6 separate regions of the Homo sapiens genome follow, and regions 1, 2, 4, 5 and 6 are each linked to region 3. Evidence: promoter capture Hi-C in 16 types of primary human blood cells and fetal thymus (Javierre and others, 2016). All regions are on one chromosome and are shown on one strand. The core of a region is centred on a gene start or on the middle of the fragment in contact, and the rest is flanking DNA. Distances in the headings are between cores, read along the strand shown.

Region 1 (3,488 bases), core at 970-3,469, 290 kb before region 3:
CCTTCCTCTGCAGCTAGGCACAGAGCAGGAGACTAGGGTGGGCACTTGACCCAAAAGCCAAGAGAGGAAGGGGAGTGAACAAGGAGCTGACTCTAAAGACTGGAAAGGAGGCCAGAGGGCCTACACAAGCTGTGTACCAGCTAGAAGTGTCAGGAGGGTGAAGAGCCAGTTGGGGCTGCCATGCAGAGACTGAGCCCACACAGTGTACCCAGGCCCATTCCCTAAGGAACCTGAGCAGTGGATCAGAAACGCTGCCCCATTGACAGGTGAAATCCAGCAAGAGGGACGAGAGGAGGCATGGACATGATAACATGAAAAGGATACAGTGAGCCAAGATGCATGCCACAAACCACCCCACACGGCTGAGAGCCCAACGGCGGGTTCATGCCAGTCTAGAAGCAGCATGGGAAGTGGACCACCTGCTCTGCTGCCCACACACTGCACAGTGACCTGACCCTGGAGTCACAAGGTTCAGTCATAGCCTGACGAGTCTCTGTATTTTATTAGATTTTCACTAATTGTTACTGGATGTTAACTGTGAACCAGTTTTTTATTCATTCATAAAATGAATACTTCTGAGCCTCAATTTGCTCAGGTCAACAGATAGGAGCAAAGAAGTAGATAAGATAGCCAAGTCCCCACACTCCCATCAAACACACTGGCCTATAGGTAAGTCCTAGCAAATAGGTATTGTTAAAAAAACTAGCAAACTCTTACCTTCGTTACAAGCTAGGTGGGCAAAAAAAGCAATGATCTGCACTGTTTTACCCAGCCCAGCTTCATCTGCCAATATGCCATTGAGATTCTTCCTGTAAAGTTTGGCCAGCCAGTCCAGGCCAATCTTCTGATAATCTCTGAGAGCCCCATACAACAAAGATGGAGCATTAAACTTGACCTGCAGTGATGAACAAATAAAAGAATGACAGCTCGTCAAAATAATCACCCAAACTTTTTCTCAAAACTGAAATCAACAGTCACATGATAAACCAATTAGAAAGCCACAAAAATGATCTACAGAAAACAGGAAGAGGAAGAATTGCTTCTTTTGGAGATCGAGTCTCGCTAGGTCACCCAAGCTGGTCTTGAACGCCTGAACATCTGGCCTTAAGCAATCCTCTTGCCTCACCCTCCTGAGTAGCTGGGACTACAGGCACATGAAGAATTGCTTTTTCTGACAACTCTGCAGTTGGGATAGACCATTTCACTGGGAAGAGGAAAAGCTTTTCTCATGGCTAAGCTATGTGCTCTGTCTCTCAAAGGCCCATCCCACACTTGAAAGCTTAGCGCCTCACCGAGGTTGTGACCCGAGCACTGCCCTTCGGCAGGATGGCTTCAGCCACCGCAGTGACGTCCGCAATGTCCTTGGCGTTTGGCTTCCCGATATTCATCCTCTCGGCAGCTTTGAACTGATCCATGATGAAAAGCGAGTCGATGAGAACCAAGTCCTTGCGACTCTCCCTGTCGCCTGGACAGTCATCTGCATCTGTAACGACAATAAAACAGAGAAGTGAGGGCCACTGAGAAGGCTTTATAAATCTAAACCTTTTTTTAAAACAGGAAAAAGTTTATAGAATCCAACTACTTTAAATACTGAATTAGGCAATAATTTTTTATTTGTAATCCAAAATATCTAACAATGCTACCTGGATAAATGGGAGAGAACTCTCATGAAACTATCAAACCAAGGACCATTCTGGAAAGCCCTCCAAGAGTATAATTTGCCCCAAATAGTCTGGCATTTTGGAAAATGTCTCCATAGCAATTAGGAGCTGGTATCACAGAGAGATACATGTAGGTGTCTCAGGGTTTAGGGATCTCCCGTCTATCACCAAGAAAGAAAAAAGCAGAACCCTTTCCCAAATGTGGGAAACCGGGAGGAGACCAAACCCGCCACTCCTTCCTCTGGTCCTGCTGGCAGCGTGGGGTCTGGTAAGGCCTGACCTCCCCAAGGCTCCTGTGGGCCACTCCCCAACTCGCATGCAGGTGTCTAACTGTCCCAACAACTGGAATGAGAGCAGGAAAGGCAGACCTTTTCTGGTATGCTCTGTGCATCTGTTTAGAAAGTCTAATACCAAGTAAAATAAACTACTCAAAACTGGTGTGTTGAACAAACACAGCACAGCCTGAATAAATATATCTAGGTCCATAAAACAATGATGTTTATAAATCTAGAGAAAAATATTTTTACATCCTTCACAACATGATCAAGTGCCCCGATAACTGTGCCAGGTTAATAAATTAAAAGCACGGAATTTAATAAAATTCTATTCAATATAAAGATACTTATTAAATATTTCTAATTTTTTATTTTATCAAACTAAAAGAAATTTTCTAAATCTTATTTTAAGTCTTTGTAAGTACTCCGGCTTCTGCTTTTAACCCTGAATTCTTCCAAAGGCTGGGAGCGCACCTTCCTCTCCGCTTGTGTCCTCCCCATCAGGCTTCGGCCGGGGCCACTGAGAACTCGGCAGGAAGGCGCCTTCGTACAGCTTCATCAGGTCCAGGAGGGGCAGCTCAGCTGCAGAGGGTTGCGGGCAGAAGGGCTGTTACTTTATAACAACAACTGTAATTTAAATTGGGAAGGAGCAGCAGCCAGGAGAACCACGGTAAGAAGGGCAAGGGGCTCCCTCTCACATGTATTCCTTTTTCCAGCTTTAGATCACTCCTTGGAAAAAGATTATATTGTCTAAAAGCACACTTGTTTTTTCTAAAAACTAAAATGGTTGCCCATTACTGATAAAAGGTGTAAAATATTTTGTTGGGGGATGCAAGGGGAATGATGAGAAATTACTTAGTAGGTGCAACACACATTTGGGTCATGACATACCAGAGACCCAGACTTCACCACTACACAGTACAGCCAGGAAACAGCACTGTACTTGCACCCCTGAAATTTATGCAAATTTTTAAAAGTATAAAATATTTTCTCTATAAAGATGAGAATCTTTGAAAGAAACTCAATTGTATTCACAAAAGATTTAAAATATCTGAAATAATCTAAATGAACAGTAACAGTATAGACTAATAAATAAAAATGTAAAAAGTGAACACCATTGATAGGAAATAACTGATGAAGATGATATATAAAAATACAAAATATCAAATGAAGAAACAAAAAGCAAAAATGTTAAAAAGTATAATAAAACATAATTAAGCTTTTTTTATAAAACACTCACCCTAATTGCTTAAAAAAAAATACCACACATTAATTAAATCCCCAATAACAGTGGGCAAAGGATATGAAGCTGTTACATACATAAAAGTGTAAAGGGCAATAAAATGTTTTTTCATTAATCATCCCTGGAAATCAGTGCACAATTTGTTAAGTACCAAATTATCAACCACCTTAAAATCATAACACTGGGAAATTATTATGAATTAGATACTCCCACATGCTGCTGATAATGGCATAAACTGGCTGGATTTTTCTGGAAATCAACACGGAAAGCTGAAGGGCTTTGGAATCCAATGCCCTCAACCTCATCATT
Region 2 (3,539 bases), core at 345-2,844, 310 kb before region 3:
CAAGAGTGAAACTCCATCTCCAAAAAAAAAAAAAAAGCAGAAATGTATTTGTAATACACTTGGAAACTCACATATGAACCTAAACTTTAGAGAACTTTAAAAATGTGAAAAGTACCTGTCCAATTTAGCTCACAAAGAGAGATTATATCTTTACAAATATAAAAAAATAACTAGCTTCAATTACACCCATAACTCTTCAAAATCTAAGAATGTATTTTTATTTATTTTGTGAGAGACAGGGTCTGGCTGTCACCCAAGCTGGAGGGCAGTAGCAGGATTATAGCTCACTGCAGCCTCAAACTCCTGGGTTCAAGCGATCCTCCCACCTCAGCCTCCCAAGCAGCTGGGCCTACAGGTGTGAGCCACGGTGTCTACAAGATCTAGCAATGCCTCTAGATACATAAAGAAATCACATACATAAATAAAGCTTTAAGATATAAAGCTTCATACTAATTTGAATTAGATGGTAAGCGTCAATCTATAACATTTACTGTTTAAAAAAAAAAAAAGTAAAACTTAGCGTTGCTTAAAACACTTTTTTTGAAAAAACATAACTCAGATGTGGTCATTTGCCCCCAACTCAAAAAGGTACTACCTTCCGGCTACAACTGAACAACAGGTTTAAAGACTTATTTCCCAATGGTTGATACTTGAATCTAAATGTTCTTCCCGAGAAATCCATGCCAGAATTATTAGTGATATGATAAAAAGAATAGTTAGTAAGAGGCTAGAAAAATGTCTAGAGATATCTTGCCCACAGAATAACCGTGAACAAGGAGGGGAAAATGAAAACAGAAGACAGAGATTTGTGCATAGAAGTGTCAATCTCTCAACAATCCTCCTTGTTCCATACACAGGTGAGGACCGACCCACAGGAAAAGCAGTTTTGCTCACTTCACAGATCTCCCAAAGAACAGCTCCTCTGGCAACCACCAACATGACTCTCATCCCACGCAAGACAGTGTCTAGTTTGATGAAGATGTAAAATATGCAACTGCTTTCTCCCTTAGGGCACTTAACTAGGACAATTCCTCTTTATTTTTGGGCAATGGGAGAGAGAGACTTGTAAGGAAAGAGAATTAGTTTGAACTCAAGTGTCTCTGTGCATCACTCCCTCTCCCATCTGCATCTTTCCAGAAAGGCCTCCACATAATTTGGCTATACCAACAACAAAAGGAGTTGAGGTGGCACTTGAGAAATAACATAATACTTTAAGTCAGGATAATTTCCACCACAGAATGAATAGGGTACATGTAAGGTTTGAAAACATACTAATCCCACTGGACACAGCAAAATGTTCTGTATTAAAAAAATTAATAACTGTGTTTTTTAAGTCATAAATTATTACAAGTTATCTTGGTTGAGCAATCCCAAGTTTAAATTTGGTAACAGGCGAGAGACTAAAAAGAGCTAATGTTTTTTAGGAACCTAAAGCTAGTTCACATGACTGGCAAGGAAGCGACCTTCCCAAATGCAGTCGCTGTCACTCTAGGAGCATCTGCTCCCCCAGAGTGCACCTGTGTGGCTGGTGGAACAAGGCCGGGGCTAACACTGGGAAGTGCCGTCCACAGCACCAAAGCAGTGAGTGAGTGCAGCAGAAAAGCAGAGCTGGATGGCGGGGTCAGGAGAGAGAGCACAGACAGGAGAAGGCCGGATGTGGCCTCCACAGAGGCGCTCCCTGCTAGACTCATGCCGGAGGCAGCTGCACTGGTGAGAGGCAGCACCGGGCATGGGGCTGGGGAAAGACAAAGGAGTGGACAGCAAGGCTCCTCCTACATCCCCGTGTTCTTAACACAACTCCTCTGGGGTAGAGAGATGGCAGAAACCTGGAAAGGTGAGGCCACTTACTGGGCAAGCGGGCCTGGGCCTGCGAGGGGAGCACCAGCCTCTGAGGCAGCGCGCTCTGCCCGGCCGCGTGCGAGGGGGCCTGGGGCTGGGGCGGGGGCTGGCCTGGGGTGGAGGCCTGTGCTGTGGTCTGGGCCCGCAGTTTCGCAGGATGGGCCGGGCTAGCGGCTGTGCTGGAGGCCGAGGCGGGCTGGTGTCGTGGAGCACTGGCGGAAGCCTGAGAGGTCTGAAACGGGGCTGCTGCTGCTGCAATCGATAAGGTTTGTTTGTGCAAAGCTGTTAGAGGTTCTTAATAAAATACAATATTTTAAACTGAATTTTAAAGAAATAAAATAAACATTTCACACCGTCTCTCAAATGAGAAGTCCCCTCTTAAGGAAAAAAAGAGGGGCCATATAGTTTACAGGGTGAGAGAAATATAATTTTACTTGTTGATAATTATCTTCACTTCGAGCTACAGTACGCTACGCGGTACATTTCTCAGAGTAAACAGAAACTGTTAGAAGTCAGCCCAACCAAACATTAGTATCAATTAGAAACTATTTCCTAAACACACAAAGAAAACATCAACAGAGCTTCCACTCATATTTCTATAGAGAATGCTGGCAACAATGCAGGTCTGAGCATTTATTTTTAGCTCAGAAAACCTGGATGGACATGGCGTGGAGGGCCCCTTTGGCCAGGTGGTGAAATACTACTTTTAACTCTTTTGATGGCCTTTTCTACTCTACCCTTCCTCAAAAGAATAATTAAGTTCAAGTGACAGCACAAAATACAATATGAGCAGACGTTCTCAGGAGTCTCCTAGACGACTGCACGCACGCACCTCTGTCAACAGAAACAGCCTGCCCAGTGGCTGTGAGCATCAGATCAACACTTATCACCTAGGAGTGAAGCTTCTTCAATAGGGAAAACATCCATTACAAGCCATCAAAAAGTCTAAAACTCATCAAGAACTAAACAAGGCACCTTCAGAAAGCCAGCGGGTGGTGCCTGTTCCCACTCAGGGACAATTACCGCATCCAGAGGCGCGAGAAGAAAGTGCCATGAACTTGTCCCACAAAAACCTCCATAAGGCGGAGAGCAGACAACTACGTGAAGTCTACCTTTTGCCTCCGGATTGGCAGAGAACGTGGCGATGGGCGGCCGTCCTCGAAGCGGGCCCTGTGGAGCAGCAGAGGCCGTGGTGGGGGCTGCCGTCCGGGGCGGGTGAGTGCTGGGGAAAGCCACGGTGCGACCCTCGGGCTTCTGGCCATACTGCACAGGCTGAAACAACCTAGATGCCCATTGGTCCAGGCAAGAAGATACAGAGCATCAGACCACAGAGAGGACAGGCCACCTCATGGAGCCGGGGTTCACCGCTGCCCATAGGAAGCCAGCTCAGGGACCAGCACCCAGAGTGCAGTTTACAGAGGGAAGGGGAAAGATGCCTAAGTACTGCTCTAGGTAAGCTCACCCCGGGCCCGGGCGCAGTGGCTAACAAGACTAAGTACACCAAAGTGGTATGGTACATCCACCCAGATTCCTGGGAATACAAGGGTGAATGCTGTTTTAACTTTCACAATCATATCAATGTAGATAGAAAACAACGCATCTATTACAGCACAAGGGCTGAGGGGAGTGAGGAGAAACATCAACTTGACAAAAGTCTGATCAAGCAGCCGTTCAAGTGATGGTTCACTGTTGCCTCAAAC
Region 3 (3,368 bases), core at 322-2,821:
TTTCGAGCTCTAATTCCAAAAGGAAACGTCAGGGATGGAAAAAGGCCTATTTGGTCATTAATGTGTCCATTCTGGCCAGCTCAGAGGTCATCCCTACAGTCATGCTCCAGGGCTATGAAGAATCCAGTTTTAATGGTCTCAAACGATGGGCTTTCTTCACGTGGAGAGACTATTCCACAGTTTAATGGTTGGTCATGGTTAGCTTTTCAGTCCGGGCCCCAGAAGTAGCCGAACAGGCAAAAAAGAAAAAAAACCACCCCACAACAACCCCAAAACCCAGAGACGAGGGGAAGGGGGATTGAAAAAATGGGAAGAAAGAGGGGAGCAAACCACCTACATCATGTAATGTTATCCTTTTCAAATCAAACGCCTTTAGAAATCCCTAATCCCAGGCCCCCACTGCCCATAATCGCTAGACACCCTCGAGTGACGACCTAAAGCAGGTTTGATTTGAAAAGAAACAACACATCTATATCCCAGCTCCACCCTTCAGTCTTAAGAGACAGTGAAACCAGCCCTAAGAACACTATCTCTTCCAAGAGCAAGGCCAGGGTCCGCACGAAGTCAAGTGGCCACCAACTGACGGGCAACTTTGCTCACTACCTCAATCTGTCAAACTCGTCGGATTATCACCGGGAAATCAAACGTCATGCCGGCAAAGTACGGGCGCTCCACTGAGGGCTCTGGGGGCATAACAGGTTAAGGCTAACTCACAGGTCCAAGAGACACTTCTAGCCACTGTCTCAGTGAGCGGCGGTTCGGAAGAATAAAGGCACGCCTCCCAGGGTACCCTCCCAGTACACCGAGCAGTGAGAGCGCGGCAAGTAGAAAAGCAGCGCACGACCCCATGGCATCGCCGGGCGGCAGGCCCAGGTGCACTCAGGAAAAGACCCTGGGCACTGGCTGCTTTCACCGCGCGGAATCGCCAACTGCAGCCCAGCGACAGGGTGAGGGGTCGAGAGGGGCTGCGGGACCAGAGACGATCCCTCCGGAGACGGACGCGGCACGCAATTCCAGCCAGTGCCTTAGGGCAGGTTTCACCGTCCCCCTCCCCACCAGAACACCAGGAGGAGGTGGGGACAGGGGAGGGGGTGTCCCCCAGATCCCCGCTGGCTCCAGAAAACTCTCTGCAGTCCTTGCAGTCAAGTCAACATCAGACGAGATCAAGCGGGTGAGGGAAGGGAAGGATCGACGGGTGGGGAGAGGAACCGACCTGTCGATGAGGATCTTGTGGTCCCCCATCCAGGGGATGAGGTGCTGTCCCTGTTCCTGAGCCAGGGCCCGCTCGTCGTCCCGGAACAGCTTGCAGGCATAGCCGAAAACCAAGAGCTCCACTCGGCTGCCCCCACCGCCGGCACCGCCTGGCCCGGCCTCCTCCTTCGCGCCGCTTTTCCTCTCGGGTTTGGCGCGGCCCCCGCTCGCGCCGTACATGACAGCGTCCCCGGCGTCCAGGCTGGTCCTCTTCTGTGCCGCGCGACGTCCCTGATACCTCCACTTGGCCTACCCCTTCAGTCAAAGACCCCGCATCCCGTACCCAACCTCAACACCGCCGCCATAGCGGGCCACAAAATGGTGGAGGGGCAGCTTCCGGCAGGAGAGCCCGCATTTCCGGCGAGCGGACCGGCAGATTCGCCTAGGCTTGGAGCTCTTTTAGCCGCTAGGAAATATTTTGGCTTTAATTTTCGCATTCAGGTGTGCCGCCACAATAGGCGCTGCTGTATTCAGTGGAAAGTGCAATTTTAATGTCCGTTTTATCGGGCAGCCGTCAGGACGTGGCGAAAGCGCAGCGTGGGATCGCGCGCCGGCTTCCGCTGCGGCCAGTCGGGCGGCGACGGAGTCGGAGGGAGGGGCCCGGCGCGCTCTGGGCCTTGGGCGAGTCCTCGTGGGTGGCGGGTTGCTGCAGCCTGCCACATGTGTGGAGGCCTCGGGTCCACCCCGAGCCTCCGCGCCCCTCACCATGTCCGAGTCGCTGGGGCCGTGCGTGCTCTGCCCAGGGTGGCGATGTCCTTTTCCTTGGCCCCGTTTCCTTCTCCATCCCTAGGGGGACTTGGTCCCCGACCCGCCCACCTTTGAAGGTTTCCGAGGCAGCAGAGGCCCCTGCGCTGCAAATCACTCGCGGGTGGCGAGATTTCGGAAACCTGAGACCCTTGTCGCCGGGAGATGGTCTGGCGGGGCAGGGAGACCCCAGTCTGGAGACTGGCCACCTGGATACGGTGCAATTTTGCTTGGTGTGTTTCCTCCTGGGCCGCAGTTTTCCCATCGGTGGTTCCATTAGGATCTTTCGGTCCCTTTTAGCTCAGTAATTTCAGGTCAGACAAAGGGCCTGGAGTGCAAAATCTTAGGCTTTGGGATGGGATGGGATATCCCCATGTTTGCCCTTGAGTGGAAAACGATGACAGATCGTCTCCTTTCTGGGCCTCAGATCCCCTCTCCATAAAAATGGAATCTTTCTACCAGTGATGTTGAAATGAGATAATGTATATGAACCTTTAACTGATTTTTGGAAATTAAGAAACAGGCAGTTCCCACCAAACGTCTTTTGTTGTGGTTTCCCCTGACTGGGTCATGCTTCTGTCTTCATTTGCCAGGCTCCTTACCCAAGTTTAACTCAGTCATCCATTTCTCCACCTGGCCTTATGTGTCTACGTTGTCTGGAGTTTCCCCTCACTGGTGGCTAACTTGTGCCTTCCGATTTGTCTGTGTACCTCTCATCACCACCTTAGGTTACATCCTGTGTTCAGCATCCCACCAGAATTAGCTTTAAGAGATCAGGGACATTGTTGGGGTCACCTTAGCATCCTCAGCACCTAGAATGGTGCTTAGCACACTGTGGGCCAAATACTGGTTAATACCTGTAGAATGAGCCGGGCCAGCAGCTGAGCATGCGTGGCCAGGCCATCATCTTCCTATCTAACTCTACAAGACTGCTCTGCCACTGCTGAGGAAGATGTATGTGTCATGGTTACTTGATAAAAACACTGTTGTTTGCCCCCAGGCATTTACTAGTTTGTTTCGGTGCTGGGCTCCCTTCAAGCTTTCCCTTGGGTTCAGGTGTGGGGTGCTAAAGCAAATAAGGAGGCCATTAGCTTGAGATCAACTCTGTAACACCAGCTCCTATGCAAGCAAACCAAAACCCAATCAAGTAATTTTTCTGCTTCCGTGTTGGGTCTATAAAAGCTTGCTGCTCATGCTGCTGAGTGGAACTCTCTGAACCTCTTCTGCTTCTGCATGCTGCCTGATTCATGAATTGTTTTCTTGCTCGAATAAACTCGAATTTGTTTTGTGTAAAGTTTCTCTTTTAACAGTTCTGGTGTCAGAAATGGGATCTGAAGGCCCCCCTATTCCCTCAATGATGACCTCTGGGAACA
Region 4 (3,846 bases), core at 664-3,163, 390 kb before region 3:
AAAGAGTGCTTGATAAACACACTCTTTATGTTTGATTTTAAATGGAAAAATTCAAGATCCAAAATTATGTAATTTTAAAGATGTAATAAAAAGACTCAAAATGTGTCCACAGGTGGTGGTCTCTGGGTTAGGTGGATTATAATGATTTTTTCCCTTTTTATACTTTTTTATGCTTTCTAGATGTTCTCTAATTACTATGTGGCATTTTTATATCCACACGGAAAAAAAGGCATCTTTTTAAAAAGTGGTTTTCCTGGCTGGGCGCAGTGGCTCACACCTGTAATCCCAGCACTTTGGGAGGCCGAGGCAGGCGGATCATGAGGTCAAGAGATCAAGACCATCTGGCCAACATGGTGATGTTGGCCCGTCTCTACTAAAAATACAAAAAGTAGCTGGCATGGTGGCAGGTACCTGGAGTCCCAGCTACTCGGGTGGCTGAGGCAGGAGAATCACTTGAACCTGGGAGGTGGAGCTTGCAGTGAGCCGAGATCGTGCCACTGCACTCCAGCCTGGCGACAGAGCGAGACTCTGTCTCAAAAAAAAAAAAAAAAAAAGTGCTTTTGCTTACTAGTAAACTCTTCTTCCAGGTGTGCAAAGTTTGCACATGAGGGACTGTAATCTAGTAAAATAATAATTAGAAGGTGCATAGAAGATACAAGGCAAAAAACTATTTGTACATTATTTCTAACTCAGAACACCTTTTCCTACGGAAATGCAATGACTACAGTCTCTTTCTAAGATCAGATAGATCAGTGGCTCTGTACTTCGGAAGACTGTGCCCGCAGGGGACATCAGGCAATGTCTGGAGGCATTTTTGGTTGTCACAACTGATAAGGGTGGGAGAACTGCTGGCATTTGGTGGGTAGAGGCCTGGAGGTCTCTAACCATCCTACAACACACAGCACGGCCCCACCAGGAGGAATCTTCTGGCCCCAAATGTGAACCAGCTGAGGCTGAGAACCCAAGACTGAGGAGGTGGCCCTGTGGGGCTGACCCGCCACACCATCTGCACCGTGTGTCCAGGGCTGAGTGAGAGCATCTCCTTGCAGTCAGGCCACCCAAGCACACAAGGAGGCAGCCTGGCCCTCAGTGGCAGCCAGACTGACCCCGGCTCTTCAACTTATTGACCGGGAAGGGGCCACTGACACTCCTGAGAATCTGGTGAAAGCTGTGGACTGTTCTTACCAAACACACCTCACAGCCACAAGCTTTACATGTTTACACATAAGGGACTCTAAGAACCAGACCCTCAGTTGCCAGTAAGGGAATGAGGCCAAGGGAGCTAGTGTCTCCTCATGGGGCAGAAGGGCAGCTGGAGTCCCCCTGAGAAAGCCCAGCCTGGGCGGGCCGGCCGGCAGGACCAATGGTGGGCAAGAGTCCTAAGTGGACCACAGAAGGTCTGGGGTTAGCAGGCAGTGCCTGGGCTCTGGGGAGGCCAGATGAGGGGAACAGCGAGTCGGAGTGCACAGGAGCCTGTGCTTGTACCTGGGAGGAGGGGCCGGTCCTCTTCCATGACTGCTCCCCGTGACAGGACTCCCACCACAGCAACGCTCAGAAAGAGGACAGTGCACACGTCCCCTTCCCACAGCCCTAGTCAGAGCCTCCCGCCAGCCCTGATCACAACACAAAGGGCTGGCGGTGTCTCCGTGCCTGTGTGCCCTAGGCACACACACTGTCGTCTCCAGACACCGCTTTGGCCGCTGGTAGAGTCTGCATGAGGGCAGTCAACACACGGCCAAACTGGAACTCTCTGCCCCACCACAGGTTTCTGCAGTCTCCATGCAGCAGACATCCCTGGGAGCCCCCAGGCTGCTGGGCAGGGCTTCCTCCTCAGTTCAGATTCTCCTCCACAGACGGTGCTTTTCCTGAGGTGGAGTGCAGCAGAGGACCCTTCCTGTCACCCTACACTGACGCAGGCCTGGAACTAGAAAACGGGCTCAGAATACTCCGGGGGCACAACAGAGCTGCAGCAGGGAGAAGGAAGAGGAGCCCTCCCCGGGCCATGCAGGCAGGCCAGCAACAATCAGAACGCGTGCTGGAGGAGGCGAAGGCCAACCAGCAGTTCATCCGTATTCGTCGTATTAGAGTGAACTTAGTGTATTAGAGTGAATCCCAGCACTTTGGGAGGCTGAAGCAGGCGGATCACTTGAGGTCGGGAGTTTGAGACCAGCCTGGCCAACATGGCGAAACCCCATCTCTACTAAAAATACAAAAATTAGCCAGGCGTGGTGGCACACGCCTGTAATCCCAGCTACTTGGGAGGCTGAGGCAGGAGAATTGCTTGAACCCCTGGGAGGCGGAGGTTGTAGTGAACTGAGATCAGGCCACTGCACTCCAGCCTGAGTGACAGAGTGAGACTCTAGTCTAAAAAAAAAAAAAAAAGAAAGAAAAAAGACAAAGATTTTTCCAAATGTACAAAACTGAAAGAATTCACCACCAGCAGATGTGCAGTACAAGAAATGAAGGACATACTTTAGGAATAAGGAAAACAGATCCAAGGTGAAAATCTGGTTCTATATAGTAAACTTGGGAAGAAGAAAACTTCCTCGACCTGATAAAGAATCTCAGTGGCTACAACAGCTAATATGATACTCGATGGTAAAAGCCTGAAAGCTTTCCCTCTTAAGACAGAAACAAGGAAGGGATGTAATACAGTTTGGATCTGTGTCCCCACCAAACCTCATGTCGAATTGTGATCCCCAGTGTTGGAGGAAGGGCCAGATGGGAGGTGACTGGATCATGGGGGCAGTTTCTCATAGTGTTACACCATCCCCCTTGGTCGCAACAGTGAATTCTCATGAGATCTGGTCATTTTAAAAGTGTGTATCACCAGCCAGGCGTGGTGGCTCACGCCTGTAATCCCAGCAGTTTGGGAGGCCGAGGCAAGTGGATCACTTGAGGTCAGGAGTTCGAGACCAGCCTGGCCAACTTGGCAAAACCCCGTCTCTACTAAAAATACAAAATTAGCCAGGCGTGGTGGCGCACGCCTGTAATCCTAGCTACTCAGGAGGTTGAGACAGGAGAATCGCTTGAACCTGGGAGGCGGAGGTTGTAGTGAGCCAATATCACACCACTGCACTCCAGCCTGGGTGATGGAGTGAGACTCTGTCTAAAACAAAAAAAGTGTGCATCACCTCCCCTTCTCTCTCTTACTCCTGCTCTGGCCATATCGTGTTCACTCCCCCTTTGCCTTCTGCCAAGATTGTAAGTTCCTGAGGCCTCCCCAGAAGCCGAGCAGATGCCAGCATCATGCTTTCTGTACAGCCTGCAGAACCGTGAGCCAATTAAAACTGTTTTCTTTATAAATTACCCAGTCTCAGGTATTTCTTTATAGCGGTGTGAGAACGAACTGATACAGGACATCCTCTCTCAGTACTTGGACTCAACATGGAGATTGTAGCAGCACAGTCAGTCAAGAAAAAGAAATAAAACACAGACAGACTGTAAGGGAAAAAGATTAAAGCCCTTCATTCTCAGGCAAAATAATCATCTCTGAGAAAATCCTGCCAGGCACAATGGCTCACGCCTGCAATCCCAGCACTTTGGGAGGCCAAGGCAGAAGGATCACTTGAACCAAGGAATTCAAGACCAGCCTGGGAAACATAGTAAGACCCCATCTCCACAGAAAAAAAAAAATTAGCTGGGGGTGGTGGTATACACCTGTAGTCCCAGCTACTTGGGAGACTATAGTGGGAGGATCACTTGAGCCCAGGAGATAGAGGTTGCAGCGAGCTATAATTGTGCCACTGTACTTTAGCCTGGGAGACAGAGTAAGACCCTGTCTCAAAAAAAAATTATTTCAAAAAATATAAAATACTCAAGAATAAATCTGATAGATGTGCAAGA
Region 5 (3,817 bases), core at 198-2,697, 340 kb before region 3:
CATACAGAATGGAAACCATCCCCTAAACAGCTGAATGTTTCTGAAATCAACATACTGATCAGCTACTTATTTTATGAAATTCAAACTAGACAGTTTTTCACCAATGGAATACTTAAAAAGAAGAAGAAGAATTAACAGACAAGCAAATAATTTCGGCAGAATGCAGTCAAGGTGCACAACCCAGGTGAAGCGCAACTCACAGTCAAGGCCCCAGGAGCCACTGGCGACGCCAGGCGCTTGTTGATGGACTGGAAGGTGGCAGCTGGGACCCCTGCGATGGTGTTCACGATCACATTTCCACTCACGGCACCTGCGGAGACAGGCGGGCATAAGGCAACAGCGCCAGGAGAAATGGGGTCCACATTTCAGCATCTCTGTATTTGTCTTACCAGTGGGCATGCTCGTCCCAGTAACTGATGTTTTAATGGTTCCTGCCTATTTAAAAAAAAAAAATCCATTTGAATTTCACGTCAGGCTCTCCCCTGCATAAATCCTCCAAAGGCTTCCACTTCATTCAGAATCAAATCCAAACTCCACGACATTCACACAGCCACCTGTCCCATCCTCCCCAGCTCATTCCACCTGGCGGTGCCCCCACCCTCTGTCTACCTGCTGTCCCTCCACCCCTATCCCATTGTCCCTCCACCCCAGGGACCCTCCATCCCACTGTCCCTCCACCCTCACCCCACTGTCCCTCCACTCCTCCGTCCCTCCACTCCATTCATCCACCCTCTGTCCCTCACCACCTGAGTCCAGCCACACTGAGCTTTCTGGCCCCCATATCAGCCAAGCTCAGGGCCTCTGTACTTGCTGTTTTGTTCTTCTTATGACCAACTCCTTGTCATTCAGGCCTTAGCTCAAATGCCAAGTCCTCAGAAAGGTGTTTCCTAACAAGCCAGTCCTGCATTGTGCCACCCTGACTCCTCCCGCCAGCATTTAAAATGATCCCTTTGGCTGCCTCCCTCCCCTGTAGGACGTGGCTCCAGAATGTGGGCACTGCCCATCTTGCCCACCTTGCACCAAGTAAGTATTCACAAAGATCCCTTTTGAATAAATGAGGAATGAAGTTGCCTGAGTACATATAAAAATTCCACTACAGCAAACAATTTTCTAAAAACTACTGCAGGAAATGGTTCTATGTAACAAAAATATTTTTATGCCTGCCTGGTAGTCCAAAGTGTGGGTTTCCCCAATTTGGCACAGCTCCTATTCTCTGCAGGTGTGATTCTGCGCATATGATTTCAGCGTCTGTGTGGCACACGGACGCACACAGTACAGAGATACACCAGAGCGTGGTGTGCATGGCCACAGTCCGCAGCTCCGCACCCTGCCTTTCTTTTCACAATGCTTCTTGTGTGCTTTACAGCTTTTCTACAACAGGCATTAAAGACTGACCTGTGTGGGGGAGCACACATGGGCATGCTTTGAGACACCGACACAGGCAGTACCTGCTCTCTAAGTGTGTAGGAAGTCAGGAAGTGAATGCGTCACAGGTATGTTTTACAAAACCCAGGCAATTACAAACTTCCCAACCACCTCCACTAAAAGGAGCTGCCTCTACCTGCCAAATCCAATAAAGCCACTAAGCCCACAAAAGCCCTGGAGGAGAGAAATGGCAGAATCCAGGTGAAAACACACAATTCCTCTGGGATGAGACTAAGCCTTTTCCCATTTCTTCAGAGGAAGGTCTACAAGCTGGAAATGTGCTAGAACTGGCAACAAGTCTTCGTTTCAACAGAAAGCACTTGAATCAAGTGCAGGTGTGGGTGACTTCCCGTAGAGGGGAAGCCCGGGAGGAGGCCCCTGCTCACCAGTACGGCTGCACTGCCCCCCGTCGTGATTGCGGGCTGCGCCTTCGCTGGGGCCTGCACAGGCTGTGGCTGGGTCTGGGGCTGTGGCTGGGGTTGGGGCTGGACAGCTGGTGGCCCTGCTGGCGGCTGGCTGCCCGCTGCCTGTGGTTGTGGCAGCGGTGGCGGTGGCTGCTGCGGGGGTGGTGGGGGCTGCGGCTGGGGCGGGGGTGGCTGGGCCACGGCCGGCTGCTGTGCCTTCTGCTGATCAGCCAGAGCCTGAGGGGCCAGGAAGGAAGAGGAGCCACTGGAGGGGCAGACTCGGCCTGCATACCCCCTGGATGAAGTCACAGTCACCACATTTTCCCACTCAAGCAGAAGGGCCCAGGGCGCTGACCTTTTTCTCTTTTGCGATTCGCTCTGCACGGAGAGATGCCACCTGGATGGGAGGCAGCGGCTTGTCATAGTTGATTCCACTGAAAGACAGACGCAAAGGTTAAAAACATACAGGCAAGTTTTAAGACAGACAAGTACCACGTACCCTAGAAACACCATGCTGCCAGGTGCTGGGGCAGCTCCAGCCCAAGAGATGAGGGCGTAAAGCAAGGTGCCCAATGTGCCCTGCAGGAGATCGAGCCACCTAGACCTCATCCTCAGCCTGGCGCTGAGTCCTCTTCCTTGAGGCCGAGCTCTCCCACTCTCCAGGAAAAGTATCTCCGAACACGTCCCCAGCGTACTTGTGGCAGCCCCCAAACGCACAGCCCACCTCATGTGTCTGCACTGTACTTGGGAAAATCTCTGTCTGTTCCTTCTGTGAGGATGCCCTCGAGTTCCTCTCCAGGGAGGTAAAGGGAGGGCGGGACTGTGCCTCTCTCGCTCCCCCGAGAATGCCCAGGCTCCACGCCGCGCAGGCCCGCGGTCCATAAATATTAGTAGGGTGAATTAACTCTTCATTTAATCGACAACATCAATCAAATGATGGGTCTGTGCTCCCAGACGCTAGAGTCCCAGCGATCACAGCACTCACATCAGACGACAAACAGGTAAAATGTGCAGTGGGTCTGAAGACGTACTGGCTGCTATGGAGGAAAACAGCAGGGCGGGGCTGCAATTCTCAACAGTGCGCTCTGAAAACATCTCACGAGGGCAGTTAAGTGAAGGGCTGGGGCGCGGCTGCCAGCACACTCAGGGAGCACCAAGGGGCTGAAAGCCAGGGCCAGGCGACTCAGAGCGTGGGCAGTAGGGAGTCCTGGGGGTTTGCGGAGATGGGCCCTGAGCCAACTCCTTCTGACAAGGATCACTCCACTACTGTGCGGAAAGGGGGCCACAGAACGAGGAAGCCTCCCAAATCCGCCACTGTGTGACAACTGTGGGCGGCAAGCCACTCAGGTGCCGAGGCAAGAGACCAAGGACACGAGCTGTTCCAGTATAATAAAATATAAAACAAGAATAGTTATACCAGATATAGATCTTAGATATGATTATCTATGAATATCATTAATCATTAGTTGGTAGCAATTACTCTTTATTCCAATATTATAATAATCCTCGCTCTATAATCATAACCTAGGAAAAGCCAGGCCATACAGAGATAGGAGCTGAGAGGACACAGTGAGAAGTGACCAGAAGACAAGCGTGCAAGCCTTCTGTTATGCCCGGACAGGGCCACCAGAGGGCTCCTGGGTCTAGCGGTAACGCCAGCGTCTGGGAAGACACCCACTGCCAAGCGGACCGTGGTCTAGCAGTAGCATTAGTGTCAAGGAAAAACACCCACTACTTAGTGGACCGGGAAAGGGAGTCTCCCTTTCCCCAGGGGAGTTTAGAGAAAACTCTACTCCTCCACCTCTTGTGGAGGGCCTGACATTAGTCAGGCCCGCCCGCAGTTATCCGGAGGCCTAACCGTCTCCCTGTGATGCTGTGCTTCAGTGGTCACACTCCTAGTCTGCCTTCATGTTCCATCTTGTACACCTGGCTCTGCCGTTTAGTTAGCAGCAGCAAATTAGTGAAAGTACTAAAAGTCTCCGATAAGC
Region 6 (3,756 bases), core at 37-2,536, 360 kb before region 3:
CCCAAGGTGAGGCTCCCTCAGTATGGCTGACACAACCTCTAAACGCTTGTTCACTCTTCTCATTATTAAGTGTATCTAGTTTTTCCCCTGAAGTTAATGTTTTTGTGTGTATCACAAAAATCAAAAGTGATTCCCTAATCATGACCTCAGATGAAAACAACCCATTCTCTGACCTGGGAAATGTGAGGTTTCCACTTTGTCTATGCGTCCTACCTGCTGGGAAGCAGAGGCAACTTGCTGGATGCTGGCCACGGGTGTTTGCTGTTGAACAACTTGAGGAAGTTTTGCAACCTTTGACAAAACAAAAAAAGCCAAACATACAATTCAAAGGAGTATGTGCACAAAAAGAGATTTTTCCTCCCTTTCTGTCCTCAGTTAATGCAAAAAACACAATGACCAGGTGACACAGAAGAGCAATTCTCGTAGTGTGCCCACCTGCAGCAGTGAGAGAGCAAGTCGTTCCACTGCATGGTGAGTCAACTGACTGCCTCCCCAATTTGCCATCACTCATCATTTAAGCTTATTTTTGGTCTCATATTTCAGACACATTTTTTCTTTTCACAAAAACGACTGCAAGTTTATATGAAAGAATCAGACTGAGGATGGTAAGTATTTGAGCGTCTTGTGAGTCCCAAGGGCTCTGCATATGACAGGCCTGGACGACGTTCCAGTAATGAGCTGTACAGTGCAGCTAGGGCAGCCAGCTGAAGTGGGGAACCCGGTGACGCACCAAGGTTTTGAGGCTGGTAATTTTATCATTTTTCTACATTCTTCTTAGTCATGATTGAGATCTGGCTATTTATAAAGCAACACTTTCCACCCAGTGCCCACTTTCTGTGCACTTGCTACTGCATGCATCTCCCGCTGTCTTGACGTAGTAAGAGGCTCTGGGCCACCTGTGTGTCCTATCAGCACCGTCATGGCGTGCACCCAGAACACAAGAGAGGCTCCAGCGTGGGCAGCTGCTGGGGGCCCTGATTTCAAGGGCCCTCCCTGCACAAGGCCCTCACGGACCCTGGTCTCTTGCTGGGTCCTGTTACTTACAGAAAACGGATGAAAATAATATTTCCCAAGATTATTCTGCGAAATATGTGAAATTACATGATTTACTCACACATGAACAAAGGTCGAAATAAATGTTAGTCCTTACTAAAATTAAAATCAATCAGAAGGCATTTACTAGTTTACTGTCACTTAAACAATTATAAATAAAATTCACTAAGATAAGTGCCCTGAGCGCCCCCTGTGGAACTGCTGGGAAACAAAGATGCAGCCGGTGCTCCAGGGCCCATCTCAAGACCACAATGGTCCAGGACTTACTTGGCACAGCACTGAAAATCCTGAGACGTCTTAAATAAAGCACTAGCAAGAAATCTTAAATGTACCAAGAAACCTGCAAAGAGTCAGGAACTGCCAGTCTCCAAACCTAAGCACAGGCGGGCATCACGAGTCACGGAGCAGAAAAGCTGCACAACCTCTGCCCGGGATCGCTGGCCACATGGAGACGCACCCCGTGATCTCCAGGGTCGCACAGGACACAGCTGACCAGACACCAGGTATAGGCCAGTTCTCGGTGGGGAGCTTGCAAAAGAGCCCCGTGCTACTGCCAGCTGCCATCCTGGAGGGAGACACTGTACCCACAAAGGTACCCAAAGGCTGCAAAGAAAGCATCCCCTTCCTCCAGTGGCATCTGTAAGAAAAGCACCTGCCCTAAGCCTCAGTGCCGGGGAGGAGAGAGGAGGAGACACAGATTCAGAGGCCAGGTGGGTAACACCTGAGAGCTGAGTGAAAGCCTGAGCCACACACCAAGCAGTGTTCCTGTGGCACCTGAAGGTGCCCGCGGAAGCAAAACTCCACCTTTGCCCCAGGCTGCGAGGGGTCCCCGCAGATGCAGCACATTTCAGACAGGGAAATCACCAGATCCAGAAAAACACCTCACTCACTCTGCGAGGCCTGGAAACAAGAGACTATAAACAAAGACCAGGCATTATTTGGGAACTTCTGAAAATAAAATAATAAATCATCAAGATAAAAATTCAACAGACAAGCTTTGAAGCAGATTTGACTTAACCAAGGGAAAAATGAGTGACTGAGGAGACAGAGCGAAAGACATGACTCAGAATATAGTACGACGAGACAAAGACACAGAAAATACAAAAGCTGCTGAGAGACCTGGAGGGCAGAGGAAGCAGGACAGGGGCAACACGTAAACAAACAGTGGCTGCTTATTTCCTAAAGACATGAGAGAGACTGCCCGAGATTCAAGAAGCTGGAGCATTGGAATGAAACTGCAAAACAACAAAGACAAAGACAACGTCTCGATAACAGGCAGACAGTGGGGGAGAGAGGTGACCCAGAACAACAAAGACAAAGACAACGTCTCAGTAACAGGCAGACGGTGGGGGAGAGAGGTGACCCAAAACAACAAAGACAAAGACAACGTCTCAATAACAGGCAGTCGGTGGGGAAGAGACAGGTGACCCTGGAAGAGAGAAACGCTGGACAGACACCGGCTCCTCTTCAACAACAAAAGCAGCCACAGTGAGGAAATGATACCGTGAATGCACTCAGAAAACAATGCCGACCGGGCGCGGTGGCTCATGCCTGTAATCCCAGCACTTTGGGAGGCCGAGGCAGGTGGATCACCTGAGGTCAGGTGTTCGAGACCAGTCTGGCCAACATGGTGAAACCCCACCTCTACTAAAAATATAAAAATTAGCTGGGCATGGTGGTGTGTGCCTGTAGTCCCAGCTACTCGGGAGGCTGAGGCGGGAGAATCTCTTGAATGTGGGAGACAGAAGTTGCAGTGAGCCAAGATCATGCCACTGCACTCCAGCATGGGAGAGTGAGCCTCCGTCTCAAAAAAAAAAAAAAAAAAAAAAAAAAACCCCAAAAAACAATGCCAATCCGGAATTCTGTACTAAGCAAAACTGTCTCTCAGGAACAAGAGTGACACACAGGCATTTTCAAGCACTAAAGGAAATTCCAAAGGATGGGTCAAGTGGAAGGAAAGTAATTCCACATAAAAAGTCAAAGATGAAAAAGGACAGAATTATGGCTGGGCATGGTGGCTCACGCCTATAATCCCAACACTTTGGGAGGCCAAGGCAGGTGCATCACGAGGTCAGGAGTTCGAGACTAGCCTGGCCAACATGGTGAAACCCATCTCTACTAAAAATACAAAAATTAGCTGGGCCTGGTGGCATGTGCCTGTAATCCCAGCTACTCAGGAGGCTGAGGCAGGAGACTCGCTTGAACACAGGAGGCGGAAGTTGCAGTGAGCCAAGATCGCGCCACTGCACTCCAGCCTAGGCGATGGAGCAAGACTGTGTCAAAAAAAAAAAAAAGGAAAAGGGACAGAATTAAAACGCACACTAACAGCAGCATTTGAGATGAATAAACTGAGCTACTGTGTGATAAGATCATTGCTGGAGAAGAGGGTGGAGGCCATCGTTAACTTCATACTCTGATACAGAAGTGTGCACATGGAGATTTTAGGGTAACCACTTAAAGAACAGAAAGAAAATATATAATTTTTCACTGGCAGAGGGGAGAATTGATAAAAAAAAAAAAAAAAAGAGAAGGTGGCCCAAAAGAAGGCAAGGAAGGGAGGAAAGAAAAAACAGAACAAGCAAGACAAACAGAGTCCAAACAAAAGAGAAGCCAGAAATTCAAATATACCCAACCTTATATACAGACAAGTGGACACGTGTTTCAGGTAAGAGTCAGAGATGGAAAGCCTGACCTCACAACAGC

The links. The method cuts DNA at HindIII sites, captures the fragments that hold promoters and counts their contacts. A CHiCAGO score of 5 or more calls a contact.
Region 1: a contact is called between a fragment that was not itself captured here and the fragment with the promoter of SFSWAP in region 3, in 1 of 17 cell types (neutrophils). The highest score is 7.4, in neutrophils.
Region 2: a contact is called between a fragment that was not itself captured here and the fragment with the promoter of SFSWAP in region 3, in 1 of 17 cell types (neutrophils). The highest score is 9.0, in neutrophils.
Region 4: a fragment that was not itself captured here is called in contact with the fragment with the promoter of SFSWAP in region 3 in 1 of 17 cell types (neutrophils); the score reaches 5.7 in neutrophils.
Region 5: a contact is called between a fragment that was not itself captured here and the fragment with the promoter of SFSWAP in region 3, in 1 of 17 cell types (neutrophils). The highest score is 5.4, in neutrophils.
Region 6: a contact is called between a fragment that was not itself captured here and the fragment with the promoter of SFSWAP in region 3, in 1 of 17 cell types (neutrophils). The highest score is 10.6, in neutrophils.

Annotation. Positions count from the first base shown.
Region 1 is chr12:132,004,107-132,007,594 of GRCh38, reverse strand. EP400 (E1A binding protein p400) reads right to left here. Exons shown (of 53, transcript NM_015409.5): 13 at 2,411-2,518; 14 at 1,293-1,483; 15 at 718-895. Among named protein-coding and RNA genes, the nearest start is that of SNORA49, 25 kb to the left of the region's middle. RefSeq lists an enhancer at 602-1,801. The HindIII fragment of the contact is 1,876 bases long and covers 1,282-3,157 here.
Region 2 is chr12:132,019,631-132,023,169 of GRCh38, reverse strand. It overlaps EP400 (E1A binding protein p400), which reads right to left. Exons shown (of 53, transcript NM_015409.5): 22 at 2,952-3,121; 23 at 1,849-2,091. Among named protein-coding and RNA genes, the nearest start is that of SNORA49, 9.8 kb to the left of the region's middle. The HindIII fragment of the contact is 2,299 bases long and covers 445-2,743 here.
Region 3 is chr12:131,709,293-131,712,660 of GRCh38, reverse strand. It overlaps SFSWAP (splicing factor SWAP), which reads right to left and starts at 1,571. Exons shown (of 18, transcript NM_004592.4): 1 at 1,214-1,571. The coding sequence starts at 1,431. RefSeq lists enhancers at 1,337-1,406, 1,497-1,786, 1,927-2,016. The HindIII fragment of the contact is 11,852 bases long and covers 1-3,036 here.
Region 4 is chr12:132,098,016-132,101,861 of GRCh38, reverse strand. It overlaps the pseudogene EP400P1. Among named protein-coding and RNA genes, the nearest start is that of DDX51, 44 kb to the left of the region's middle. The HindIII fragment of the contact is 1,405 bases long and covers 1,211-2,615 here.
Region 5 is chr12:132,051,592-132,055,408 of GRCh38, reverse strand. EP400 (E1A binding protein p400) reads right to left here. Exons shown (of 53, transcript NM_015409.5): 42 at 2,185-2,263; 43 at 1,812-2,066; 44 at 390-435; 45 at 201-310. Among named protein-coding and RNA genes, the nearest start is that of SNORA49, 22 kb to the right of the region's middle. The HindIII fragment of the contact is 6,897 bases long and covers 1-3,817 here.
Region 6 is chr12:132,073,051-132,076,806 of GRCh38, reverse strand. It overlaps EP400 (E1A binding protein p400), which reads right to left. Exons shown (of 53, transcript NM_015409.5): 52 at 214-291. Among named protein-coding and RNA genes, the nearest start is that of SNORA49, 44 kb to the right of the region's middle. The HindIII fragment of the contact is 1,529 bases long and covers 522-2,050 here.